7 separate regions of the Homo sapiens genome follow, and all the other regions are linked to region 3. Evidence: promoter capture Hi-C in 16 types of primary human blood cells and fetal thymus (Javierre and others, 2016). All regions are on one chromosome and are shown on one strand. Each heading gives the region's core, a stretch centred on a gene start or on the middle of the fragment in contact. The rest is flanking DNA. Distances are from core to core; before and after follow the strand shown. Region 1 overlaps NOS1AP (nitric oxide synthase 1 adaptor protein). Region 2 has its middle 22 kb from the start of OLFML2B. Region 3 holds the start of SH2D1B (SH2 domain containing 1B). Region 4 overlaps NOS1AP (nitric oxide synthase 1 adaptor protein). Region 5 overlaps NOS1AP (nitric oxide synthase 1 adaptor protein). Region 6 overlaps ATF6 (activating transcription factor 6). Region 7 has its middle 4.2 kb from the start of OLFML2B.

What was found. The method cuts DNA at HindIII sites, captures the fragments that hold promoters and counts their contacts. A CHiCAGO score of 5 or more calls a contact.
Region 1: a fragment that was not itself captured here is called in contact with the fragment with the promoter of SH2D1B in region 3 in 3 of 17 cell types (M0 macrophages, M1 macrophages and erythroblasts); the score reaches 5.8 in M0 macrophages.
Region 2: a fragment that was not itself captured here is called in contact with the fragment with the promoter of SH2D1B in region 3 in 7 of 17 cell types (M0 macrophages, M2 macrophages, M1 macrophages and 4 more); the score reaches 20.9 in M0 macrophages.
Region 4: a contact is called between a fragment that was not itself captured here and the fragment with the promoter of SH2D1B in region 3, in 2 of 17 cell types (M0 macrophages and endothelial precursors). The highest score is 5.4, in M0 macrophages.
Region 5: a contact is called between a fragment that was not itself captured here and the fragment with the promoter of SH2D1B in region 3, in 4 of 17 cell types (M0 macrophages, erythroblasts, monocytes and 1 more). The highest score is 8.6, in M0 macrophages.
Region 6: a fragment that was not itself captured here is called in contact with the fragment with the promoter of SH2D1B in region 3 in 1 of 17 cell types (M0 macrophages); the score reaches 7.1 in M0 macrophages.
Region 7: a fragment that was not itself captured here is called in contact with the fragment with the promoter of SH2D1B in region 3 in 5 of 17 cell types (M0 macrophages, M1 macrophages, megakaryocytes and 2 more); the score reaches 7.9 in M0 macrophages.

Annotation. Positions count from the first base shown.
Region 1 is chr1:162,111,227-162,115,541 of GRCh38, reverse strand. All of the region lies in intron 1 of NOS1AP (nitric oxide synthase 1 adaptor protein), which reads right to left. LOC105371475 (a long non-coding RNA gene) reads left to right here. Exons shown (of 4, transcript XR_007066699.1): 4 at 1,640-1,675. Among named protein-coding and RNA genes, the nearest start is that of NOS1AP, 44 kb to the right of the region's middle. RefSeq lists an enhancer at 3,979-4,148. The HindIII fragment of the contact is 1,364 bases long and covers 1,212-2,575 here.
Region 2 is chr1:162,043,612-162,047,623 of GRCh38, reverse strand. No RefSeq gene overlaps it. Among named protein-coding and RNA genes, the nearest start is that of OLFML2B, 22 kb to the right of the region's middle. The HindIII fragment of the contact is 3,967 bases long and covers 1-3,321 here.
Region 3 is chr1:162,410,750-162,414,512 of GRCh38, reverse strand. SH2D1B (SH2 domain containing 1B) reads left to right here and starts at 2,377. Exons shown (of 4, transcript NM_053282.5): 1 at 2,377-2,630. The coding sequence starts at 2,497. The HindIII fragment of the contact is 13,514 bases long and covers 2,194-3,763 here.
Region 4 is chr1:162,131,116-162,135,394 of GRCh38, reverse strand. The region is part of intron 1 of NOS1AP (nitric oxide synthase 1 adaptor protein); the gene reads right to left. All of the region lies in intron 3 of LOC105371475 (a long non-coding RNA gene), which reads left to right. Among named protein-coding and RNA genes, the nearest start is that of MIR4654, 24 kb to the left of the region's middle. The HindIII fragment of the contact is 1,187 bases long and covers 1,874-3,060 here.
Region 5 is chr1:162,088,613-162,092,615 of GRCh38, reverse strand. The region is part of intron 1 of NOS1AP (nitric oxide synthase 1 adaptor protein); the gene reads right to left. Among named protein-coding and RNA genes, the nearest start is that of NOS1AP, 21 kb to the right of the region's middle. RefSeq lists enhancers at 33-627, 628-1,223. The HindIII fragment of the contact is 159 bases long and covers 2,332-2,490 here.
Region 6 is chr1:161,910,340-161,914,117 of GRCh38, reverse strand. It overlaps ATF6 (activating transcription factor 6), which reads right to left. Exons shown (of 16, transcript NM_007348.4): 15 at 1,738-1,822. Among named protein-coding and RNA genes, the nearest start is that of OLFML2B, 110 kb to the left of the region's middle. The HindIII fragment of the contact is 2,384 bases long and covers 282-2,665 here.
Region 7 is chr1:162,026,081-162,030,033 of GRCh38, reverse strand. No RefSeq gene overlaps it. Among named protein-coding and RNA genes, the nearest start is that of OLFML2B, 4.2 kb to the right of the region's middle. The HindIII fragment of the contact is 3,406 bases long and covers 216-3,621 here.

The sequences.
Region 1 (4,315 bases), core at 644-3,143, 300 kb after region 3:
AGGCAAAGCTCTCACCATCCCAGATTACATTTCTAGACAATTCCTCTTCCAAGAATCCCCTCACAAAAACCTACAACAACTCCCAGTTCAGTTGGCCTGGAACCCAAACATCACAGATTCTTACCTTCTTTAAAAAAAAAAAAACAGAGCACCTGAGGCTCAAAGAGGTGAAGTAATTTACCCATCATCACATAGCTAGGGAGTCATTATTTGAAGTCAGAAAATGACCACCCAATTTAGAGTCATGGTATACTGTTTTATTTTCCCTTATACACTTACAGTATCTGAAATTAGCTTGTTTAATTTGTATACTTGTTTATTATTAGTTTCCTTCCTCTCCCTCTACCACATCTCTAACAACCATTACTAGTTTTGTAAAGCTCCAAAAGAGGAGGGATCCTGTCTGTCTTGTTCACTGCCATAGGCTCAGTACCTAGAACAATGCTTACTTGGCAATCTGTAAGTGAATGAACAAAAACAAATGCAATGAAACAAGCTGCTCCTTCTTCCATGAGGAGCTATAACAAGGAGACATAAGAATCTTGGCCATTATGGGACCTGAAGTTAACTCATGGATATCAGTCACTGTTTACTGAAAAGCCACTTAGAGCACTTGCAGCACTTAGACCATCAAGGGACAGACAAATGCAACAGGAGATACCATCCCACCCCTACAACAACTTCCGATTTAGTCACGGGGAGAGGTCACATAGACGCAAACGATGACTTAAGCATACCTAGGAAGCAGAAATACAAGTGAATATGACAAAATCTAGACAGAACACGATGCTGCAGGTAGGCAGGTCCCGATGAGACCACTGGGATTGACTTTAGCCCTTATTATGTCCTAGCAAGGAAGGTTGTTGAAAGAGGGGCTGGACAACCAAGGCAGATGATGCATCCAATTTCCCAGATTAATTTTCAAAGAGGACAGATTATCAGATGTGATGATATTTTGTATATGTCAACTTGGTTAGGTTACAGTCCCTGGTTATCCAAACACTAATCAAGGTATTGCTGTGAAAGTATTTTGCAGATGTGATTAAGGCCCATAATTAGCTGGCTTTTAGGGAAACCATCCAAGATAATATATGTGAGCCTGATTCAATCAGTCAAAAGGCCTCAAGGACAGAGCTGAAGTTCCCCTGAAAAAGAAACTCTGCCTCTGGACAGCAGCTTCAGTTTGTGCCTGAGAGTTCTGCGTGAAAGCTTGCCCTATAGATGTTGCACTTGTCTAACGGCTCCCACAGAGACATAAGCCAGTTCTTTGCAATAAGTCTCTTCATATATATATCCCCTATTCGTCTTTGGTTGAACCCTGACTGATACACCAGCTAAACAGGGTGATCTTGTCCTGCTGGAAAATAATATGGCCTCTTTCTACACTGGGGTTTTAGAGTGAAAGACACCACAGTTCTTTCCATTCAAATTAAGTGTTTGTTTATAATCCAAACACTGTGCCACCTTAAACTGAAACTACAAATGAGCAAGGAAGCCATATTTACCACACCACCACGGGAAACATTCTCCCATTGTTGTTATTGTGTTTTTCTGTATAAATTCTGGGTTTTCAAACTTTCTGTAATAACACTGCCTTTAGAATCATAAAATTGTTTTTTTTTTTAATTCTCTTACCCAGGAAGGGTGCTCAAGAGCAACTAGAGGCAAGTGCTCTACTGTGGCTGCCCTCCTTCCTAAGAGGTGAAGGATGGACAGGTAAGAGGAGGAGATGGTTTGGATTTGTGTCCTCTCCCAAATATGTCAAATTGTAATCCGCAGTATGGGAGGTGGGGCCTGGCAGGAGGTAGTGGATCATAGGGGCGGATTTCCCCATTTGGTGCTGTTCTGGTGATACAGAGTTTTCACAAGATGTGGTTGTTTAAAAGTGTGTGGCACCCCTCCCTACCCCCACCACTTCCTCCCGTTCCGGCCATGTAAAGTGCTGGCTTCCCCTTTGCCTTCTGCCATGATCATAAGTTTCCTGAAGCCTCCCCAGAAGGCTAGCTGATGCTGCCATGTTTCCTGTACGGCCTGCAGAATCATGAGCCAATTAAACCTCTTTTCTTTATAAACTACCCAGTCTCGGGTGTTTCTTTACAACAATGCAAGAATGGACTCATTAGAGGAGGTGCCCTCATCAGCAGCCTTTGCCCGACAACACATTCCACTGTGGGGCTGCCAGGACCCCACTGGGCCGCCAGACACACTTCTGCAGGCTTGAGGTGTGGACGTCCTAACAACCAAGTCATGCCTGGACTGCCTCCAGTAATGCTCCAACAATTGTGCTTACTATGGGAACCAACATCCCCCATAACCTGCTTGCTGTCAGACTCATGCTCCACCTCCTGCCAGGATTATCAGGAGAAGAGGTGTAGGCTTCCCCTCAGCCTCCTCTCTAGAAACCAGGGATCCTCATCTCTGATCCTGTCAACTTAACTCCCTCAGTAACCCCCTATCCCCACCACCCTCTGCCTGATATACCCACTGACCTAATATACCTATTCAGAGATGCAGCCCAGAACTGCAAACAAAGCACAGGCACTGAAGCCAGGCATAATGAAGGAGCTCAGAAGCTTTAGAGGGAAATTTCACCTCTCTGAATTCCCATATCTTTTTATTGCAGACTAAAGCAATTCACCCCATAAAGTTGTTATAAAGAACATAAATTTATGCAAAAAGGTGCTATTATGGCATTGACATGCTTATAATGCTAATATACTCAGTCTATGGCATATGCACATCTATATTTGAGGGAGTTCTTAGGGCAAATGATTTAACCAAAGCAGTAAAAGTGAGAAGGAAAAACATATCCCTTTTTCAGAAGTGACAGCTTCACACTAGTGGCAAAATTGATCAATAATCTATCTATAAAGTGTCTGTCTTTTAAATGTGCATCCATGTCAGAATGTCTTGGACTGCAAGCTCTGAGAAGTCAGAGCCTGTCTAAAAGTCCAAATATGTTCCTCATGGTGCAAAGAACTGGCAATGAACATCTTTGAATGATCTGACAGCAGGATGGGCCCTCCAGGGAGCCATTGGTCTAATCCCTTCAACTTGTTTAGAGATAAACCAATTGGAACCCAGAGGGGTTTGAAGAGGGGGCCAAGGCTACACAGTCAAAGCCCAGTAACAAAGGAATCAGAACCTAGAGCCAACTCTTGTATACCCTCCACTAGAGGCCAGGATGCTCTTAACGTGAGATGACAACTCAAGCCTTCTTTTCCAAGCCTTCTTTTGTTGGCTTCCACAGACAATATATGGTACTTTTGTTGGCCATGCCAAGTAAAAATGTTAAAGTACAGCAAGTCTTCGGAGAATACAACTAGTTCCCAACCATCAGAGAGGGAGGTAGGCTGATGACAAGGAGGCAGATCTGAGAAGTGTGATTACAGACAGATGGTACCAGTTAGCTAGAAAATGTAGAGCTGCATTAAATAAGGTACCAATAAAAATAATAGGGATCCCAGAGCAACTCAGTGACCACAGGCTGCAGAACAGTGAGAAGAGTCGGAGCACGAAGGAGCACTGGCCTGAGCGGTAAACCAGTTAGGAACATAATTTGGGTTTGAATATTTCATCTCCCATAAATTGTTACCAACCACCACTGCCATGGACTGCCACCCTGGCAATGAGGCCCTGAGGACTGCAGGTTGGAAAGCCCACAGAGATGAGCTAGTCCAACTCTTCTTCCAACACTAACCCGGCTTGACTCATTTCTGCAATATTCCTGACCAGGGGCAGAGCAGCTTCTCGATGACTGTGAGGGACTACATCAGCATTCCAAGACATCTATTCCATTTTTGGCCAGAAATATTCTCCTTGTATTTGGCAGGCATTGACCTCTCTGTATGTCATCCTTCAGGAAAGCCTCTGACTGCAGCAACTTTTTTGGTAATAAGGCCACACTGTTGATGTTGCTTCTACTTGATGCCGTTTAAGACGCCAAAATCATTTTCACACATGCCATCAAGCCAGGTCTCAACTACTTATCCCTGTCCTACTGTTTTGAGACTTCAGAGCCCATGGTCTGAAAGAAATATGTCATTCCTCTGGGACAGAGCTTGTTTCTCAGAAATGAGTCCCATCACAAGTCAACAAGCTCTCCTCCACGGTCAAAGGCAGTACTCCTCGCCCCAACCACGCCTACATCACCAGGGGGCTGGGATGAGGATGTGGGGAGCTCTATCCATGCTTTTGGATGAGCACTGCCTCTCCAATGGCTTTCATGTTCTCTCCTGTATTCTCTTTCTGTTCTCCAAACATACCAAGCCAGTTTCAACTATAGGATCTTTAATTTCTACTTGTTCCTTCTGGC
Region 2 (4,012 bases), core at 89-2,588, 370 kb after region 3:
AAGCAGTTTTGATGTATAATTAATTATATTTTCTAACAACATTTAACTAGAAAACTGTTAAAAATGTTTGCCCACTTATCACCTAAGATTATCGGATATATCACCAGTAGTATGCATATCACCTTGGGAAACACTCATGGGAAAAGCACTGTAACTGCAGCCAAAATACCTAAATTCAAATTATGGTTCTGCTGTTTAGTAGTTATGCCACCTCGAAACATTAGTTCACATTTCTGAGCTTCTGTTTCATTTTTAAAAGGAAGAGCAATAAAAAGGATATTTGGGGATCATCTGGAACACCAACATATAATCAAATATTGCCACATATTTCAAGGTTTGTGTCTGCATTTGCATCTTCATATAAGCCCAGTGGAGTTCAATGAAGTCACAGGGAATAGAGTCTTCTTAGTAGTTCAGACAGAGAAAAATGGGGGCAGAACTGAATCATGCCAAGGCATTCAATAGCACACGCAGCTGAATTCAAAATAATCTGCACTTAAGGCATCAACACTATATTCAGGAGTTTCAATTCCTTAAAAAAATATGAATAATGCATTTATGCCAAGAGAAGACTCAATGATGTTGCAGCATAAATTATCATTGCAGAAGAAAAGTTTTGTCCTTAAACTATTAAAAGAATTTAACATGACCACAATAACAGTCATGGGTCAATTGCCACTTTGACATTAGGATATATCAAACTTTATTATCAATACATTAAAAATCAAGCACTGTCACTTAGGGATCACTGGGTGACAACATAATCATAAATGCACATGTAAATGAGCACTTTTAAATCTCACTGAAGTATTCTATATGTTCTAGAATACCTTACATCTGACTTTTAGAATATTTTCAAAATGAAAATATAAGATTAAAAAATTCTGATTGGAAGATTTAAATATCAAATTTTTTCCTTATTATGACATCAGTACTATCATAATGTCAGATTTACCCTCATCTTACTCTTACACAATTACCTACATAAAAGATGTTTTGTAAGACATTTACATATGAAGATATGTGATTGATACAGTCACCATACCATACAGTTAAGTTGTAGGCTAAATATGTGACCAAGAAAAAGAAAATTAACACAGGCCAGGAACAGTGGCTCACGCCTGTAATCCCAGTACTTTGGGAGGCCGAGGCAGGTGGATCACGAGGTCAAGAAATTGAGACCATCCTGGCCAACATGGTGAAACCCCATCTCTACTAAAAATACAAAAATTAGCTGGGCGTGGTGGTGTGCATCTGTAGTCCCAGCTACTCAAGAGGCTGAGGCAGGAGAATTGCTTGAACTTGGGAGGCGGAGGTTGCAGTGAGCCGAGATCGCACCACTTCACTCCAGCCTGGCGACACAGCAAGACTCCATCTCAAATTAAAAAAAAGAAAATTAACACAAAAAATTACAACTCGTAACTAGATATGAAATATTTAAGACATTTGTCAAAGGCAGGCAATCTTCATCTTTATGTTGGTAGGAGTTTTCTGGTTCATTCTTGGCCCTCAAAAGATGCATGAGTGTAGTCCTAGAATGGGAAGTATCTCCCATTCATACAGTTGTGATTAATGAAAATTTGGGCTTATTCACCCAGGCCTTGTGTAGACCTACTCCATTGATTAGAATACTTTTAGCAGCAAAAACAGATAATCCTCATTCATTTTGGCCTTCACAAAAAAAGGCATGTATTTTTCCCTATAATAAGATGTTTGGAGGTTGGGAATTTCCATGTATCATGCACCAGGTCCAACTCTTCTTCTTTGTGGTTCTCCTGGTAGCAAGATGGCTGCAGCCATTCAAATTCTAAACATGGCACTCAAACACAAAAATACTCAGAGATAGGAAAGGGATTGCTTCTCCTAGGCATATTTCTTATTTTATTATTATTATTATTATTTTTGAGATGGAGTTTCACTCTTGTTGCCCAGGCTGGAGTGCAATGGCTTGATCTCAGCTCACTGCAACGTCTGCCTCTCAGGTTCAACAGATTCTCCTGCCTCAGCCCCCCTAAGTGTCTGGGATTACAGGTGCCTGCCACCACATCCGGGTAATTTTTGTGTGTGTGTATTTTTGGTAGAGATGGGGTTTTACCATGTTGGCCAGGCTGGTCTCGAACTCCTGACCTCGGGTGATCTGCCAACATCAGGTGATCTGCCTACCTCAGCCTCCCAAAGTGCTGGGATTACAGGCGTGAGCCACCACACCGGGCCCCCTAACGTGTATTCGTTAGAGGCAAGAAAAACTTTTCCCAGAAAAATCTCAGTCATGTCCACCACATTTCATTGGCCAATAATTGGCCAAAAATGCTCACCTCTAAATAAGTGACTGGCAAGAAAATGGGACCAACACCAGCAGTTTAAGCCAACTATGACTTAATTCTGAGCAGGATTTTGGGTTACCATCCAATGAATCACTGAGACAGAGGTGGATCACTGTGAGCAAGAAAAAAGAAGAAAATGGATACTAGATGGGCATAAATAAACAAATCATGCCTTCCACTCACCAACTGGGCATTTTAACTAGTTAGCCAAGTTAAAATTGATAGAGATTTAACTATATTGTTTTTCATACCTGAGGAGGTTGTCTACTCTCTAATAATCAACTCATTTATTAAATTTTTTTATGATTCCATGTTTTCTCCACTCTTGGTTGGTTAGCTATATTGGGTTGAATAATGTCCCCTAAAATTCATGTCCACTGGAAGCTCAGAATGAAACCTTATTTGGAAATAAAGTCTTTGCAGCCTCCATTAGTAATTGGTTTAAGATGCAGTCATATTGAATTCAGATGGATGCTGATCCAATGTCTGGTGTCCTTATAAGAAGAGAAAACAGAGACAAAGACACCCAGAAGAATGCCACTGATGCAGACAGGAATTGGAGCGAAACATCTACAAACCAAGGAATGTCAAAAGAAGGCCAAAGATTGCTGGCAACCACCAGGAGCTAGAGAGGCAAGAAAGAGCCTTCAATCACTTTGGTTCTGCCGACACCTTGATTTCAGACTTCTAGGTTTTAGAACAGTGAAATAATAAATTTCCCTTGTTTCAGGCTGCCCAGTTTATGGTAGTTTGTTATGAAAGCTCCAGGAAACTAATACATTAGCTACCTCTTGGTCTTATTTTTTAGGGGATTGCTTAGCGTTTACAATATTTTTAACTCACCACAGTCTACTTTCAAAATATTATACAATTTCAGGTATATTTTAAGAAATGTACAACTGTATACTTAAAATGTTCCCCTCCCATCCTTTGCACTATTCTTGTATTTTATTTCTACTTATGTTATATACCCCAAAATATATTGTATTTTTAAGCTTTTGCCTTAGCAATTACATTTAAAGGGTTCTTAAAATGAGGGAAAGTCTCATGTATTTCCACATATTTACCATTTCTTGATCTTTTAATTCCTTATCTATCTGGCTTTCCATCTGGTATTATTTTTCTTCAGTCTGAAGAACTTCCTTTAGCATGTATTTTTAATGTGGATCTGTTGATGACAAATTTTCTCACCTCTGCTTATCTAAAAATGTCTTTATTTTGCCTTCATCTCTGAAGAATATTTTTGCCAGATATAGAATGTTCTGGGTTGATAGGCTCTTTTTTATTGTTCTTTCAGTTTAAATCGGTCATTACATTGTCTCCTGGCTTGCACTGTTTCTGATAATAAGTTCGGGAATTCCTATCATTATATCAATGTATATAACGTGTCTTTTTTTTCTGGTTGCTTTTAAGATTTTATCTTTACTACTGGTCTTAGTAGCTTAATTATTATGTTCTTTTGTGTGTTTTTTGTGTATGAGTGTGTCTTTATATCACTTAGGGTTCATTTTGCTCCTTAGATCATTGGGTTTGTAGTTTTCATCAAAACTGAAATTTTTTGGTCATCATAGTTTGAAATATTTTTCTTCTCCCACCCTATGACTCCAATTACACATGTTAGGCCCCTTGATATTGTTCCACAGTTTGTCCTGGCACAGTTTGTTGTTCTTCTCGGCATTTTTTTTTTT
Region 3 (3,763 bases), core at 1,128-3,627:
TGGGCGTGGTGGCAGGGGCCTGTAGTCCCAGCTATTCGGGAGGCTGAGGCAAGAGAATGGCATGAACCCAGGAGGCAGAGCTTGCAGTGAGCCGAGATCGCACCACTGCACTCCAGCCTGAGCGACAGAGTGAGACTCTGTCTCAAAACAAAACAAAACAAAACAAAAAAACAATTACATGATTCTACATTCAAAACTCCACAGCAGGCTGGGCGCAGTGGGTCACATCTGTAATCCCAGCACTTTGGGAGGCCGAGGCAGGCAGATCACTTGAAGTGAGGAGTTTGAGACCAGCCTGGGCCACATGGTGAAACCCTGTCTCTACTAAAAATACAAAAATTAGCTAGTCATGGTGGCACGTGCCTGTAGTCCCAGCTACTTGGGAGGCTGATGTGGGAGAATTGCTTGAACCAGGGAGGCAGAGGTTGCAGTAAGCCGAGATCACACCACTGCACTCCAGACTGGGTAACAGAGTGAGATTCTGTCTCAAAACAAAACAAAACAAAAAACCAACAACTCTACAGCAAGTTTTACTGAGAGAAGTCTCACCTCTATGCATGTTTCCGCTCTCCTCTTAGAGGCAGAAGTTTTTAGTTTTAATTAGTTTTAGTTTTGTTCTTCCAGTGGGTGTTTCGTTTGTTTTTTAAATATGAGCAAATATTATAAATGTATATATTTATTTATATCCCCCATACTCTATATACTATTGTGCATCTTGCTGCTTTCACCTAAAAATACATCCTGAAGATTATTGCATATCAGCATATAGAGATCTTCCTCAATCCCATTTTATTATTCTATAGTAATATTCCATTGTATACATGAATCACAGTTTATTCACCTGTCCCTCTATTCACAAGTCTTTGAGTTGTTTGTAATCTTTTTCTATTAAAAAATACTACCTTATTCACAAGTCATTTTCTAATTCTGCCTGTGTAGTTTTGTGACAGATTTCTAGAACTGAGATTGTTCTATCAGATGGTGAAGGCATACATAAATTTGCAAGATATTGCCAAACCATCTTTTACTATAGTTGTAACTATTTTTTATTCCAACTAATGATATACAAGATATTCTATTTTCTTTCACCATGACCAACCCAATAAGCTTTCAAACTTTTGATTTTCACCCATATGATAGGTGAGAGTTGTTATCTCAGCATGCAGGTAATTTGCATTTCTTTTATTGTGAGGGTTGGATTTTGAAACAGCAAAAAGGGCAAGGAAGCCCCTGTGATGACCAAGAGCCTGAGCATGCTTTCAGTTATTTCCTCTCTTATGTCAAAAAGCATCTTTACACCACGATTGTGAATTTATTCACAAGAAATACCAAATTTCTTCTTTCATTATTAACAACTCTGTCTTCAACTGCCATAGTTTCCAGAGAATTGAATAATGAATTGTCCAAAACCACAGAAGAAAAGTTGCTATTTGAGAGCATATCTGTCTGATAACGAGTTCCCTGATCAGTGAAACTGCACTATGCCAAATGCAGAGTGGGAATTCCAAGGAAGAACAAAGATCTGTTACAAGGAAGTTCCATAGAAGATACACCCAACTGTGAGTAAACAGCTGGTAAGCAAAGTAGCAAGGTGAAATAAACATCTAGGTTAAGAAGAAGTTAAGATCTCCAGGTACTACGGAGATGAAGAAAACAAAAAAAAGAAGAAGTTAAGAGAAGTAAAGATGAATCGTTAGCACATAGTTCTATTTTCATAGATAACATTTTTGAGATATATATAGTGATTTTCTGTAGATATATGAGTATACCCAGATATCCCTCCCACCTACACCAGCCCTTTCTCCAAAAGGAACAATGCTTGAGGGTGTTCAAATGGCCTTTTTTCACCAGTGGCTGGGAGCCTTAGCCATGGAATGGGCTGTCCTCATCCACAGTGTCCCACTGTTTTTTATTGCCATTAATGTCTTCCATTTTTAGTGTCATTTGATCCACGGAAATCCCACCCTTTCAATTTTCCCATTGTATCTGAGCATATCAATTCTCTCAGCATCCAAATGGTTTTTGAGCACCCAGTCTAAGCTAAGCATAGCCCAATCCTAGGCAACTTCAGCAGAAAATGGGTACCATTACAGCAAAAGCAGCGGTGTGCTTCCTGGAAAGGATACCAGTAGCCAAAGAAGTTGATGATAGTCCATGGTAATATACAAGGCTGCAACACAGTTCCAGGAAGCTTGACTTCAGCATTGCCTCCCTAGCCATGAGCATCACTGATTCCATTGTGTGTTTAAATGTGCTTTACCTACTTCTGTGAGTCACATGTGGGCCATTTAGAGGGTGAAAAGTGTTGGTCATTTTATCACCCCGCCCTCCTCATTTCCTGAATCTTGTGAAGCTGGCTGAGTCCCACAGACCGCTAGAGGAAGAGGTAGCTCCACAGGAGGTACAGCTGCTTACACATCTCTCCTCAGAGCTGTCCCTTGACTTGGGGGTGAATTTCAGGCCAACAGGGCTTCCTGGGATACAAGAGCGTTCTCCATGGATCTGCCTTACTACCATGGACGTCTGACCAAGCAAGACTGTGAGACCTTGCTGCTCAAGGAAGGGGTGGATGGCAACTTTCTTTTAAGAGACAGCGAGTCGATACCAGGAGTCCTGTGCCTCTGTGTCTCGTGAGTAGCCTCATCTTGCACACATCTGACATCGTATGTTGAATGTGGCAATGGCTGCCACACAGTACAGGAATTCATATCCCTCAGTATTTCACTCTGACTTTGGAGTCTCAATGAGTAGAATGAGAAGTAATGGACACTGCCAGGAGAGGAATGTATCTGTCCATGCTCCTCCATCTGCCTGCTCTCCCTGGTGTAAAGGCCCTGCAAGCAGACTCTGCAGCAGCAGGAGGGACATGGTGGTGGTGAAGGGAAGGGCTGCAGGAAGTACAGGGGTACAGAGGGATGGAAAGAAGGTACAAATGTCAGAGGTCCTGTCCTCCAGAGATCTGTTTATTTGGTATGGAAAAGGCTAGGGGTTCTTCAAGAAATTTCAATCTGAAACACTTATTCTGCAGCATCTGCTTGCAATACGTAAACTATAAATACAATCATATTTCACATTTTGTTAGATTTGTGAAGGACTTCAATATTCGTCATTTCCTTTCATCCTAGTAGTCTATCAAGGCAAGCATAAGCAGTCACCATTTCATAGGTAAAGAAACAGAGACCTGAATTTCTCAAATAATTTGTTTGTGTTAAAACTCATTTGGAATTTCCAGAGTCTAAGTTAAACATGAAATTCCAGGCTGGGCATGGTGGCTCATGCCTGTAATCCCAACACTTTGGGAGGCTGAGGCAGGTGAATCACTTGAGGTCAGGAGTTTGAGACCAGCCTGGCCAACACGGCAAAACCCCATCTCTACCAAAAATACAAAAATTAACCTGGTGTGGTGGCGTGTGCCTGTAATACTGGCTACTTGAGAGGCTGAGACAGGAGAATCACTTGAACCCAGGAGGCAGAGGCTGCAGTGAGCTGAGATTGCACCACTGCACTCCAGCCTGGGCAATAGAGTGAGACTCTGTCCAAAAAAAAGAAAAAAGAGTGGCTGGGCACAGTGGCTCACTCCTGTAATCCCAGCACTTTGGGAAGCGGAGGCAGGTGAATCACCTGAGGTCGGGAGTTCGAGACCAGCCTGACCAACACGAAGAAACCCCGTCTCTACTAAAAATACAAAATTAGCCAGGTGTGGTGGCGTATGCTTGTAATCCCAGCTATTTGGGAGGCTGAGGCAGGAGAATCACTTGAACCC
Region 4 (4,279 bases), core at 1,218-3,717, 280 kb after region 3:
TCCAAGAGCCTGTCTTTCCCCCTTGCAGTATATGAAAGTCGAAAACCTTTGCAGATACTCAGTATCCACACTGTCCTTGAGTAGCCTGCATCCTGACATGACCCAGCCAGTCCTTCCATCAGCCGGCAACCAATACCTCTGAGGACATAAAAAACAAAAGACATGACATCTGTCTTCTAAACGTTAACAGTACACATAAAGAGAGACATATGATTCAACAGTGACAATGTGCTAAGGTCACTGCTGTAATAAGGTTATATCTACCAAGTCCAGTAGAAGCACAGAAAGGCAAACACCTAATTTGCTTGGATACAAGTCAGAAGTACTCACAGAGAAGATAATTTTTGAACTTGAAGGATAAATAGTTGGTTGGATAGAAATAGAGAAGGCAGGCCATTCTAGGCAGGAACATCAGCGTGCATAGAAATGGAGAGTTGAGGCAGCATGGCCTGTTGGTGTGTTCAGATGCTACAAGTCCTCTGCCAGATGAGATAAGGCTGAACATGCAGGCAGGGTCAGGTCATGAAGGCCTTGCATTGCTACTCTTAAGTCATGTGCAGCCACCTAAGGGTTTTGAGCCACGAACTTTGATCAGGTTTATATGGCTGCTTCATGGATGATAGATTGGAGAGGACATGACAAGAGACCAGTGACAGATAAGAAGGACCTAAAACAGAGCAAAAGAATCAGGGATAGGAGGAGAGGATATCTGGGAGATAATAGGGACAGGACTTGGAAACTGATCAGATGTGGCTGTTGGAGAGGGAGATGAATTCAGGGTAATTTTCAGGATTCCTTAATCCTTCCACTGAATGCATGCATCTCCACATCTTGACTTTTTCCCTACTCTCCTTCCTCTCCTCCCCCATTTACAGCACTACGGTTTTACTTTTTTTTTTTTTTTTTTTTAGACAAAGTCTCCCTCTGTCACTCCAGGCTGGAGTGCAGTAGTGTGATCTCAGCTCAGTACAACCTCCACCTCCCGGTTCAAGCGATTTTCATGCCTCAGCCTCCCCAGTAGCTGGAATTACATATGCACCTCCAAACCTGGAATTTTTGTATTTTTAGTAGAGATGGTGGTTTGCCATGTTGGCCACGCTGGTCTCAAACTCCTGGCCTCATGTGATCTGTCTGCCTCGGCCTCCTAAAGTGCTGGGATTACAGGTGTGAGCCACTGCGCCCAGCCCAGTTTTGCTTTGAGATAAATTATCCATTATACCAGGGCTTACTATAGCTCACTCCTTAGATTCATGAATTTAGCATAAATAGTGTCTTAGCTTTTACTGACTGTTTCACCTGTGTTTTATCCTATTAATTGAATTCTTAAGGTTTCCTTTTAAACTGAAATTCATTTTCTCCCAATTTTAGAAGAGATACAATTTTTTGGAAAGTCTTCTCTTCCTTCTCTCCTCCCCAGTTAGCTTATCTCACATCAAGTTCATGGGGCAGGAACTGGATCTAATTCTATGTACTACTTCATGCCAAGCATGTTCTTGGCATTCGTTGAATGCCGATTACTTCTACAGGCCACAAAAAATAATAACAACAATCTATAAATACCTTGGCTTCCTGCAGTTGAGAGGAATTAACCACACTGCAATTAAGGAAAAGCTGGAGAAAACATTTAGTTAGCAGCTTCTCAAGGCAGACAATAAGATTAAGGTAATAAATACCAGTTCCAACATATTTCTTTGGAGATGTTTCATAAAATAGTCCAATAAAATGCTAAAGACCACCCAATGCCACAGCAGAATGCTAACCACATATGAGTCACTCAAAAGCCAAAATTGAACAGATTCATCTATCATGTAAAAGGGATAGAAGAATAAACATCAACAATTTATACTGCTGCCAGATTATAAAAAGGAAAGCTTGTTATAAAATCTAGTTCACATAAAATATCACACTTTTAGAATAATAAGACAGCAAGAGAGTATGATTTCATTCATAGACTTTTAGATAAAACTATAAATGGTATCTGGGTTTAGGCACAATGGTAACCAAGACGGGTATGATATCTACAATAATTGGTCCTAGGCAAGAATCAATAGATAAGACAGATAAAGGATAAAATATGACAAAACATTTGTTAAGATTAGAAGATCTTCTGAGGCAACTTAGGAAAGCATTACCAACACAGTGCATCTAATAAAATAATGACTTGTCTTTGTTAATACAGTTTAATTCAAAATTTCAAAGATTAAACCCAAGAATATAGACAAATTAAGCGTACTAATATAATAAGCACACACCTGGAAAATATTTTAGGTAAATGGCTGCTACAGAATGAACTCAGATGGGATATGAAGCAATGGACCCAGAAATCCCAGCCAACACGTGATATTGCAATATTCCATCATTTACTATCACACTGGACCTCACTGATGCAGAAGTTTCCATTAGGCGCCAAGTCAAAAGAGATCACAAAAGAAAAGACAAGTAAGTGTATAGCTCTGACAGAAGAGCCAGAGCAAACAAGGAAATTGGGGCACATGCAGGCAAAGTGGAGAATCTCAGCAAGAAGAGAGCTCTGGTTTCAGAAACAGACCTTTATCCATGGCACCCAGAACACTGGTAACTGGGGAAAACTGAAGGAGTGTGGAACCTGGGAGGGGTCACTCATAGATTTGCAGGGCTGGAGGAATCAATATGGAGACCTGTGGGTTGGGAAGCTATGCTATAGATTCCTATTATGTCATCATCAAAATATTTTATACCAATAACAGTTTCAAACCAAGTTTACTACTACTTTCCATATTGCTTTAATGAGCTAAGATTAGGCTGAGCAATTATTAAGTGCTATCATTAAATAATAATCATCTGATTGCCGTGATCTCACTTTATCAGATAATCCTGTCCAAAGGCAATTCTCCTGTGTTTCACTAGACCTGAAGGTCACGGAGAAATCTCTGTATTTTTTTCTTGACTTTATCTTTCTACAAAGATCATTTCTCCTATGAGGATCTTATCGAGGTGGGTAGAAAATTATTTTACATACTAGCATCACTTTGTATCCATCTACTCTAATCTCTCCAGATGTAAATCCTCCCATCACAAGCTTCTTCCTATGGATTCTCTTGCCTGGGGAGGCATATTTGAGTTGCATTTCCTCCAATGTGCGTCACCTTCCCAAAGAATCCAAGGATGCCATCAACTTCTGTTAGAGGGAGCATTATGTTTGGTATAGCACATCCGGTATTTGGCAGAGTCAGGAGTCCTTCACCCTCCCAGGAACTGTACTTTGAAACTTCCCATAATCCTCCACTGTGATCATAATGTTTCAGCTCACCTTCCAGGCAGGCCTAGGAATCACATGTCTGGGACACACACATGCCATTATCACCAAATAGATTTCTTGATAGTCATTTAAAGGACCCTTCACTGTGCAGTTTACAGTTTCAAAGTATTTTCACACATCTCATTTGATCCTGGTGACAATCCCATTAAATAAGCAAACAAGGTTGCTACCTCTGTTTCACAGTTAAGAGGCCTAAAGATTAGAGAACTGTAGATACTTGCCCAAAGTTTGACAGCAGTACAGGGAATAATGCCAGACATACTGACTGAGGCCATATGTAAAATCATTTTCTGTCTACCTTGGTGCCTTCTCCTCCTCTCTTTATCTTAATCACATCCTCCCAACCAAAAAGAAAAAAAAAATGCCGCCTTATAACACTGGAGCTCACAGAATGGTCCAAGAGGCCCATAAAACGGGCTGTTTCAGCTGAGCTTGGACAGCAGCTAAATCAAATCACCTTTGAATACTTTCCAACCTCCCAGGGAAATGTCCCTGCAAGGACATTGCACTTTGGATCAGTCTGTTTACCAATCTAAATGAGAGCCTCTTTCCATGGGAAATCACAGACTTAACTATTCCTGGCCCACATCCCTCAACAGCTAATATAATAAAGACCCTAATATCTCTGTGCTCCCCTTTCTGTCCTATTGTGGCTTGCTGCATTATTAAAATGCAGCTGATTCTGTGTCAAGTGACAAGCCACAATAGGGCAGAAAGGGGAGCATAGAGATATTAGGGTCTTTATTATATTAGCTGTTGAGGTATGTGGGCCAAGAATAGTTAAGTCCATGATTTCCCACGGAAAGAGGCTTATTTAATAAAGTTATTTTAATACAGTTATTTGCTTATTATATATGCTTCCTACTGCACTGAGAGCCCGCAAGACTAAAGATTCCTTGAAACTCGAAACCTAGCACCTAGCACAGAACACAAGCAAGCGTTCAAACATTCGATCAAATATAAAATACGCAGTAGTTCTAA
Region 5 (4,003 bases), core at 1,162-3,661, 320 kb after region 3:
ATTTGAATTACTATCTTCTTGCCCAAAGAAACAAAAAGACCACTGAGAGAGAATAAGCACTGAGATAAATAAAATGTCAATTCATTAAGTCAGTCATAAACTCTTATTCAGTGAATAGCATGGAGCCTTCAGAGAAACACTTTTCTTGGAAATGTCAACAATCACCAGATTTACCACTTGGTGGCATGAAAAGTTCAACAGGACTGACGAAGCCAGGCCTTCTGGTTGTGCTCTTGATTCTGCCACAGGAGAGCTGTGATAGTGCTGATGAAATCCTCCTCTGTTCTCTCCCTCAATTATTCCACACAAACACCAAATTCTGCATGCCTGTATCTTAAGAAAATCCACTAGCTGAAACACTGAACTTCCTAAAACAAAAGAATGAATGAATACCCTTCAATTTACTCTATAAAAGTCCTCTTCGTTTTACAATAGTCTGTTTACTCATTACTCAACAGGGAAGCTGGGGTTTGAGAGACTGGAATGTGGCCTGGGAGAGTTCAGGACAAGCTGCAATGCCAATCCCATCCTTTGTTGGATCCACAGCCTTGAACTAGTCACTTTCATCTCTTTGTACTTCAGTCCCCCTCATCTGCAAAATAACAGAGCTGATTTAGGACCTAATCTCAGAGGTGATCTCTGAGGTCCCTTCCAACTCCAGCACTCCGTGATTCTATATTTGATTCTTCCTGTATATTCTGCAGACCACCCCACCTTGCCCCAGTGAAGTCACATCCCAATTACTTAATGCCCACGTAGTGGTTGACAGATCAATTAGAGCAAACAGCCAGAACACAGCAAGACTGCACAGCACTCCACATGCTCCTGGGCTGTGTAAAGTGCCCTCTCTCTTTGAGGAGTGGGAGGAGGAAACTTGTGATCTCTGTCTTCCCTTAGCTGTTCATCAACATGTTGCTCAAATGTAATTACACATAAGCAGGATTTATTCATTCCTTATCCTATGTTCTCAAATCTTTATATGTTTTGCTGCTCCATGGGGGAAAAATAACTTAAAATCTCAGTCAGCAACTTGCCACACTGTAGTGAAAATTAAAAGCAATATCCCAATTCTGGGAAAATGGTGGCAATATATTTATTGAGTCTTCCACAGTCTCTACAAAAAATAAACAGAGCAACTAAATAGCAAATTTAAAAACTCATGGATGACACTCAACAAAATTTGGTGACAAGTTATCGGAGACAAATCACCAATAGCCAGTATGATATTGATGTCTATGTGGGAACAATCAAAGGGAAGCAATGGGGCATATGATGAACCTGAACCCAAAAGAGCCAATAGGGTAAACTGGAGAACTGCCGCTGAACCTGGAACAACAGGGGACCCACAGGAGGTTCGAAGGGCTGGAGCACTCAAGCCACTAGGAACTCTCAAAACTGATTGCCCAGGACAGGACTCCACACCAAGAGAAACTGCTGGGAACAGAATCAAAATGAAGCAGGACAGGCAACAGAGACAAAGAAAAGAGAAGGCTCAGGTAAAAGAGAGAGATGGAAACAGAACTACCACATTTTTTAAATCTCCATGAAAACAAGAGATTTTTAAATCTCCATTTCTCTGTGCAGTTAGAAATACTACCAAACCAACCCTCCTTTTTAAAATTCAGGAAAACTAAGTTTACATAAAAATTAACAACAGAAAAGTAACAAGGTCAAATCCATAAACATTTCTATAAAAAAAGAGAGAATAAGGAACAAAATAACATCCTTAGAAATATGTGATAGTGAAAGCATGCCAAAAAGACATATTTTTAAATAAGCTAAAAATACTTTAAATTATGCAAGGCATGAAAGAACAACATAAATTAGAATTAGAAAAATTCAGAAATAAAGTGACAAAACTCAAGAAAGCAAAGTAAAAAAAGAAAACTATTTTAGAGATAAAAACTAAACTAGAAGAAATATAAGAAAAAATAAACCTAAAAACTGCCTGAAACTTAGGGAAATTTTTTAATTAAAAAGAAATAATAGGAAAGAGATCAAAGGGATTTGAAAGTGACAAACATCGAAGATAGGCAAACAAGAACCAACATATGGATAAGAGTGGTTCCGGAAGAACAAAACCAAAGCAAGGAATATAATTCTAAAAACAGTAGTCTGTGAAAACTTTCCTGGAAAAAAACTATTTGAAACCTGATATTGAAAGAACATATTGTTTACCTGAGAATACTGACTCAGAATAATATCAACATATACTCTAGTAAAATTCTCAGACTTTTTTTTTTTTTACAAAAGATAATTTAGGCAGCATCTAATTTTAACTGTATACAAATTATAAGGAAAAGAAAAATTAGATCAGATTTACAACAAGCTTTATGCCAGAAGTAGATGGAATAACACTTAAGATTTTTTAAAAAATGTCAACCACAGATTTAATATTCAGCAGTTTTGACCTTTCGCATACAAAGAGCATAGATAAAATGTTATCAACATTCAGAAAAAAAAAATCAGGGAATATTGTTTCCATAAGCTTTTCCTAAGGATACTAGAGAAGAACTTTGGATAATCAAAGTGACTAGAAACAAGAATGTAAGTTTTGGTAGTAAGTATTAAATATGTAATTATTGAAGAACTAAAAACTAAATGAGGGTTAAAAAGGAAATATTATAATGTGTAATGACTATATGATTGTATTAGTTAACTAGGGCTGCTATAACAAACTATGACAAAGCTACAGGCTTAAGACAACAGAAATTTATTTTTTATAACTCTGGTGAACAGAAGTCCGAAGTCAGTTTCACTGGGCCTAAATCAAGGTGTTGGCAGGCTGCACGGCCTCCAGAGGCTCTAGAGGAGAAACTATTCCTTGCCTCTTCCAGCTGCTGGAGGCTGCCAGCCTTCCTTGGCTGTGGCCACATCACTCCAATATCTGCCTCTGTGGTTACACTGTCTTTTCCTCTTCTGTGTGTAATCTCCCCCTCCCTCCCTCTTGTAAGGACAACTGTGACTATATTTAAAGCCCACCCAGATAATCCAGGATAATCTCACCATCTCAAGATCCTAAACTTAATCACATATACAAAGTCTTTGTCATGTAAAGTAACGTTCACAGATTCCAGAGATTAAGACATGAATACTTTTTGAGGGACCATTACTCAGAGTATCACAATAATACAGTATAACCATTTTAAAAGATGGTGAAGGATACAGATGACATATTTTTTAAAAGGTTTTGGACTGTTTTCAGTAATCATAATTGGTGCTGGTGTTTGTACTACTATTCTGAGATTCCTAATTGTGTAGTGTAGGATAAAGCAAGTGAGTAATTATGGAATATTGGATTCTGTTATTCCCTATGTATTTGAAAACCAGAATTCTCAGTGTGGACAAAAGATCAGATGAAATACAGAAGTAGTTAAGATATTGGAAATATCAGTATGAACACACAAGTATGTTTACATCTATCACATTCATCCTTGCTCTTTCCTTATGTGTAGTTTCCCAGCTCTGTTCACCAAAAAAGACCTACAGACAATGGCCAACTCAATAAAAATTAGCATCCCTGGTGCCAAGATAATGGTCTTGAAATACAATTTTGCATTAAAAGATACCAGGTCTTCCTGGAGAAATGATTGATTCCAGGTCTGAGACACAAAATACACAAGGAGTGGAAGAGAGATGAAGGGGAAGGAGAATGGCGAGAGGGAGAGAAAATCCCTGATACCAAAAGAGGTATCGGTCTCCAGATTGTATGTATTCATAAATTCATAATTCATAAAGACGTTACCACAGGAAGGGGAAGGAGGTGCTGCTCAGCCCTGGACACACACACACAGTCTGGACACACAGCTAGCAGTGTCCAGCCAAATGCTTAGTAGTATGAGGAGGCCTTTGACCTACAGACTGAGTAATCTGGCCTCAAAGAGGAAATCATCACCATTGTTTGGGGGCACACCTCAAACCGTCTTGGCCTGCTGCCATTAAACATTCCCAAATACCCTTCTGATGGAGATCTGTCCCCCTCCTCACCACCACCCTCCTACCT
Region 6 (3,778 bases), core at 224-2,723, 500 kb after region 3:
CTTATCCTAAAAAGGGAAGTTTTTAAAAAGACTATTTACAAAGAGTCTGAAACAGATTAAAAAGACAATGATCCTCTAATGACTGGATTTTTCCAAATCCATGAAAGGCTCCTCTTCAAAAATCAGTCACCTGGCCAAGATAAACATAGTCAAACAGCATCTTGTTGGTTTTGGCTTAATATAAAGATAGCTCACTGTTACAAAATAAGACCAGGCATTCTCTTGCATAAGAACCCAATATCAGAAGAACAAAATTAAGTGAATTCTGCCTTGATAAAGCTTAGAAAATAGCCTTTCTGAGCATAAGCTGACCCTTTGGTCTATTCTAGTTTAGGCAGAGAAACTTAGGTACCTATAGATTGAGTATAAGTGAGACTTCCTAAATACATTCTTTGGAATGTAATAAAATGCACTTTGGAATATATTCTTCTTCAGGTAGTAAATGATTATTCCATGAGTAACTTCAAAGGTATGTCTTTACTGAAGAAAGAGATGTTCTTCTCAATGTTACTGTTTTTCTTAAACTTATTCTGAATGTCTTTGTAAGGCTAAGTAAATATTGTAATTTTTATGCTTTAACAAAAAGCCCATTTATGTTTATGTCTATGAAGTTACTTCCTAAGCATTTCTAATAAGCTGTCTATATACAGATCATGAAATTCTAAGGTCCTCTATGGTCTTAAAATGTATGATGAATACCACTTTTCCCCTAAAGACTAAATTTTATTGAAACTTATCTGGAATCCCCCCAAAATTCTAGTGTTTTGTTTTATAATTGTATTTGAAGGTTTAATTATATTTATCAATCAAAATGTGAACTGGTTCGACTGCAGGTTAGTTCAAAGGGCTTTTCGTTTCCATCTTCTTCATATACTGAGGTTTTTGCTACCAGACAGAAAATTTACTAGTACCTACATTATGTGAGATACACAAACTTGAAAAAGATGGCCAACTCTCCGATTTTCAATATAATGTGTCAGAGAAAGCAATTAGTCAATAACATACACTGTGCTCATTTATAATCCACAACTGGTAATGGGAGTGAGTTATTTCACTTCTCCATGAAGAATCAAGCTGAAAGTAATCTCTTTTCACTAGATTTCTTAGTACCTCACATATTACTTACGTGACTTTCTCTTTGGAGTACAGTGATTTTTGTGCTTGTCTTTTTTTTTCTTCTAAACTATAAGCAGGTATATTATGCCTTAACATCTGTGCATTATATTATTATTTGTATTTTGTTTAATGTCCAGGGCTAGTAATATAACAAAATGCAATAGTAATACTATCAGTGTCAAACTCATCAGTATTATCAATTAAACATAAACAGGCTTCTGTGGCATGGTCTAGGATGATATCAACATTTAGGTAACACAGGAAACTGCTTTGAGTTCCAAAAATCTAATTTACAAATTCACTGTCAGAACACAGCAGGGGCTTCTTACACTACATTTATGACTAGAAGGGTCGCAGATGCAAGTCTGTAGAGCAGTCAAGATGCTAGCTTTTCCAATTTTGTAAGTAAAAGAAAGCTACTTTTTCTTTTAGGGATGTAGTAATTTTTTTTAAAAGAATAATGGATCTTAAAAATAATAAAACAGTGGAAAAATGTTTCAGAAATAATGTACGGATATATACTCATTTAACTGAACATTTTAAATGTCTTTGAACTAATGAAGAGAATCCTGGTTAAACAAAGAAATCTCATATTGTTCATACATCAGAATTTCAACTTACCATTTATGTTTATTGCTGGTAACACAATTGACATTTTTGGTCTTGTGGTCTTGTTATGGGTGGTAGCTGGTAACAGCAGGTGATCCTAAAATTAACAAAGAACAATCTGTTATATATAACAATTGGCTTAGTCCTAGAACAGGCCAAATTCAGGGCTTCTAAGAGGTCAATATTTCGTTGGGATGATGAAAAATTATAGTTTTTATTTGAAGTTGGCTTAATTAACTACAAACCAGCTTAGAATCATTCATTCATTAATGTAATACACATTTACAGAGTGTCTACCGTTGTCAGGCACTATGCAGTGATCTTGGAAAACTCCTAGGTTTTTACAACACATATGCTGTAGCACCACTATAAAGAATACTGGTCAAGCAGTCAAGACAAGGGATTTTAATTCTAATTCTGCCACTAAATAGCTGTATAATCTGGACAAGACTACGTATCCTTTCTGTGTTTCAGTTTCCAGTCCTGTAAAATGATGGGGGCTAGACTAGATAATGTCACAAGATACTGAGAGTATCTCCCCTAAACAGTCATTCTCAAACTTTTTTTTTAAAGGCAATAAACTCTTTTTCCCATCAAAATTCTTATCCCAGGAATTTTCTATCTGTAGAAGAAAGAAATTATCAACATGTACAAGAAAGATTCTGACTGAAGCAGGGCCAAGGCCTAGAGCCTTGCCTGCTTAGCCTCCTCTTCTCCCTTTGAAGGGACCACAGAATTAGACATTTATTTGCAAGTGACAGGTGCATGCTAAAGAAGTTGTACAGTTTTTGCCCTTAAAAAGCACACAGTTTGGTAGAAGAGTTAAAGAATTATAAATACATGCCTAGCACAATTGTATAGTCCTACACTGTGCAGGGCATCTGAGGTTTCTAATTTCCAGCACACAAGTACTAAAAGTAAGAATAAGCCAAGAGAAGCTTGGCTTCAGAAAAGGCAGAGTATAAGTGTTTTGAAAAATGTATATACATCTGTAGGCATTCTAAGGCTGATTATAAATGACTTATGACTTTGATATTAACTACTGTTTTCAGTAACTCCTCTTCTTCCTAGCAAAAACATATGAACTGTTACAGAAAAAAGAAAAAAAGAAGTATATTAGCATTTCCATTTAAGGGAGCATGGTTAAACTGGAGATAAAACTAAACCTAAGTTTGATGCATTTTGCTTTCTTTTCTTGTTCCTGTGTTCATTGTTTCACCATTCATTCAACAAACTTACTATATGAAATAACTCATCAAAAAGTAGGATCTGATACAGCTGAGAGCAATAAAAATTCAACACAACTTCAAAGTTCAAAGTTGATATGATTATGAAGTGTGATTATCAGCAAAACTAAGAAAAAAATCTAAAAAGTGAAAAACAAATTGAAATTGATATACATGAACAGAACTGTGTAGAAAACATTTCCAGTAACTGCTTGTATTTTGTGTAATTCAAGGCAACATTTCCATGAGAACATGTTTTTAAAAATTGGGGAGGAGAGAGAAGATGAGTAAATTCTGTTAGAATTCCAGCATTGCAGCAAGGGAATTTTTTGTTTTGTTTTTTTAAGTGCATTGTTAGACACAAAGATCACACATTTCTGATTAAGATAACATTATAACCAAGAAAAAACAGAATTTGCTGATCTTCAAGCCATGAAAGTTATACATAGCTTAATTCCTATCATTAAAATACTGCTTCAGGGTCTCTAAATTGAATGTGAAAACAAACCAAAAAACTTGCAAGCCCCAAATTAAGGCTATTGTAAAAATAAACAAACTTAGATTCCACTGGTCATGGGTTAAGGTCAGGCTCAGACTTAATTCTGAGTTTCCTGCTAAGATACAGATGCCATACTAATTGTTGTTTTTAAACATGATCTTCTGAACACAATGTCTCCTACTTTTTCTTTTCACTAAATTTCTAACAAACTAGTTACTTTTGCAGCAGAAAGCTAAAAACTAGGTATGATTTATGAAAAAGAAGAATCATATCTTGCATGCATACGAATTATTACAGTTAACCTGCCTTGTCTCTAATTATTAAAGGT
Region 7 (3,953 bases), core at 669-3,168, 380 kb after region 3:
GGCCTCCACAGTGTCTGGCACTTGTCCATTTATGTGTCTCTCTCAGGAGACTGTGAGATCCTTGAAATATTATCTTGAATTAATTATTATTAATGTCTTATTCATTCATGTTTCTTTAGTGTCTAACTCAGGACCTGGCACATAGATATTATACTCAATACCTGAGTGGATTTCACTTCAATTAGCTTTAAACTTAAATTTTATTATGTAAAGCTTAGTTTAATAAAAAGAAATTACCATGCTTGGCGTATGAGGAAATGCAAATTGTTCTTAAAACTGGGGAAATTCAGAGAAGGAAAAACTTATTTTCTTTGCTAAAATATCTTGAGGAAAAACATACTCTTCTGTACCCTTTCCCAGGATCAAACATTTATAATCTTTATAACATGAGTTCCTGAAGGCAAAGGTTTTTTGTCATCTTCATCTTTGTGTATTCAGCAGTTCACAGAGTGCCTGGCTCATAATATATATATTCAATAAATGAATTAAACTGAATTAAAGGAGAGAGAGAATGTAGAAGATCAGAGGCAAAATAAGAAGCCAGGAAAGCAGCAAAGCAGGGTGACCAGGGGAAAAAAGACCTCATTTTCAGTTGTGCTTTCCATCATTCCTTTCCAGCATTTTTATGGCAGTTCCCTGGCACAGCTCCCACTCTGCAGCGAGCCAGGGAAAGGAGATGGCAGAATGATGTTGCTCGTGGGACTTTGCCTTGCTCTTTGATTCTGCTGCCGTGGGGCAGGTGCATTTTCTCAATTACACACAAAGGTGGCAGGCCATTTCTAGCCACCTTGGCCCCACCTGGCAAATGAAGCCTTAATTTTCAACAGACAGACATTTCAGAGCAAAGTCAGGAGGCTCCTAGGTAAACGGGAAAACAGATGCTCTTGCCAGATGCAAACTGGCTCGTGAGGGATGGTGGTTGTGGTTGCTGAGGGATCCCCAGAATTCAACAACCTGCTAGCCAGCCACAACTGGTGAGGTCCAGGGTCTAAGATAGATGAAGTGGCACACTTACGGCTTTCTGAGACCCAGTTCTTGGAACATTTCCACAGTCTGTCCGTCTCTAAACCTGTTTCCTCATTTGTAAGAGGAAATGATACTGACTCAGGGGATTTCTGACCGTCAAATGATGCCTGGCACATGGGAAGCACTCAGTACAGAGTCGCCATCATACATATCACTGTGTTGGTGCTTCAATGACTTCATCTGTTAACCAGGGAGGGCAAGACTTATTTTACACCATGATGCGAGGATCCAGTGACGTGGAATTCATAGGCTCTGAGCAAAAGATGCAGGGATTTTTATGTGAATTTTATGCCGGTTTCCTCTATCCTGTGCTTTCCAGCTATGTTTTTTTTTTTTTTAACACAAGTAAAAAGCACTTAACCCAATTTGCTAAAGCCAAACCAAGCTCATCACAGAATCATCAGTTCAGGTTGCCAGGCAGGCAGGTAGAAGCAATGCCATGAGCAGTGTATCTTGATTTCTGAAAGACAGTGATAAAAGTCTCTCAAGAAATGCTTGTAGACATGATGAAGACATGTGGACTAGGCACCAACACCCATGACTGCCTGAACAGTCATACACCAAAACGGTTAACATCAATAAGGAGAGACTTTTCCTATTATGGAGGTAGAGCTCTAGAATATGGCCCTATCTGAAGGAAGATGGCTTTTTAAAATTAATCATTTGAACTAAGACAGAAACTATGCTTAGTGAATTTGGAAATTATGCAAAACCAGGACAAAAGCAAAAATAGCAATATTTCAACAGGATGAAAAAATGGACCAAAATCATCACACTGTTACAGTAAAAATGTAAACACCTATACTTGGATTAAAAAAAAAGAGAGAACATAGCTGGAAAGCACAGAATGGAGGAAACCAGTAAAAAATTCACACAAAAATAAATTTAAAAACTACACTTAAAAGATAAATCAGTGTGAGTCGTTGGTGCAATCTGGCTGCCAAAACTAAGGTAATCTTAGGCTGCATTAATAAAAGCACAGTGCCCAGAAAAAAAAAGAACAAATTGTTTCAATAGGTTCTAATATCTACTCAAACTGGAGTCTTTCTAGAGAGAAAATAACCAAAATAATGAAGAGTTTGGAAGGCCATGTGGTTTGAGAAACAGTTGAATATAATGGAGATAAAAGATGAAGAAAGTGGGCTAGTGATGTTGAGAAAGAGGATATTTAGAAGGTACTTAACCTTTTTTTTTTTTTTTTTTTTTTTGACAGAGTCTTTCTCTGTTGCCCAGGCTGGAGTGCATTGGTGTGATCTCGGCTCACTGCAACCTCTGCCTCCCCGGTTCAAGTGATTCTTCTGCCTTATCTTTCCAAGTAACTGGGATTACAGGCGTGTGCCACCAGGCCCAGCTAATTTTTGTATTTTTAACAGAGACAGGGTTTTGCCATGTTGGCCAGGCTAGTCTTGAACTCCTGACCTCAAGTAATCCACTTGCCTCGGCCTCCCAAAGTGTTGGGATTGCAGGCGTGAGCCACCATGCCCGGCCAGTACTTAACTATTTATCTTTAAGTGAAAGGAATGAAACTCTCCGTGAGAAAGTCCTTAGACATATTCTGTGTAGGACTGTAGGACTGGACATTAAAAGGTGACTTTAAAAGTAGACCCTAAAGGAAATATATTTTAGTTAGATAAGAGAAAGGACTCATGGTCATAAGATGGCTGCCACAGCTCCTGGCACTTTTGAAACAGCCCCTATAAACTTTATAAAATTAACCAGGGAAGAAGGAAAGGGAAGAAATGAAAATAAACCAAGTTCACAGCACATTCAGCAGTAATCGTGAGGTCTACTTGCTCTCTGACCTGTTTCCTCATAGTTACTCTGTGCCTATTGCCTCAGAATCACATAGATCCTGTTAAAAGATTATAAAGCCCCTTAACTGTTCTATAGAAAACAACTTGAACATTATGAAACATTATGTTTTCCCTTTGAGATACTCTTTTGGGTCCTGCATACTGATGAAGCTACTGACTCAGCTAGTTTGAAGGACCCCATGAGATCCTGACTCACCAAAGAAGGCAGTTTCCACATCCTGATGATAGAACTTTGTTCCATCGTCTTGGCCCAACCAATTAATAACCTCAATTTTTTAGCCACTCACTCTCCACAATCCCCTTAAATTAAAACGCCAGCCCAGAGCTCCTTGGAGAGATGGATTCAAGGGTCTCCTCCCATCTCCTGACGTGGTGCCCTGCAATCATCAAATTCTTTCTCTGCTGCAAACCCTGCTGACATAGTGTAATTGGTCTGTTACTGCACAGCGGGCATAAGAACCTGTTGGTCCTATAACACTTTGACTGTGGTCAAAGACACAATCAAAGACAAGAAGTGAGGGAAGAGTAGCACCAGAAAGGTCCTCTCTCCTATTTGTTTCTTTTATCAGGAAGCAAAATATCTTGTCCGGGTGGTTACCCCTAGCTGTAAAGGAGACTGGGAAATTGAATGTCTGGCACAGGGGTAGCTGGGACTTGCTTAAATCAATTATGACTAGGTCAAAAAGCCAATGCTGTAAGAATAATGGAGTGGAAAATGGAAAGAGCTTGGGTCCTCGCTGACATCACTGAGTTGCTGAATTAAATTTTAAACAGCCAAGCTTGTCTTCTTAGAGTGGGATAATAAATGTATATTTGACTGAGACATTCCTAGAAGGATTTTCTATCACTTGCAGTCAAATGCACCCTAATGGATACAGAGATGGTATTTATAAAGGTAACTGAGCCTACACCCAGTTGGACAATTCGTAATTTCCATTCATTCAACCAATATTTATTTAGTGTCCACTTTGTTCTAGGCACTGGTTAAACTCTGAAGATGTAATGGTGAGCAAAACTAACAAGGTCCTTGCCCTCTTGAATTTATAGTCTGGTGGGGAAGACAGGCACCCCCAAAACAACCCACAAAGGAGGAATATAAATATCCATCTCTCC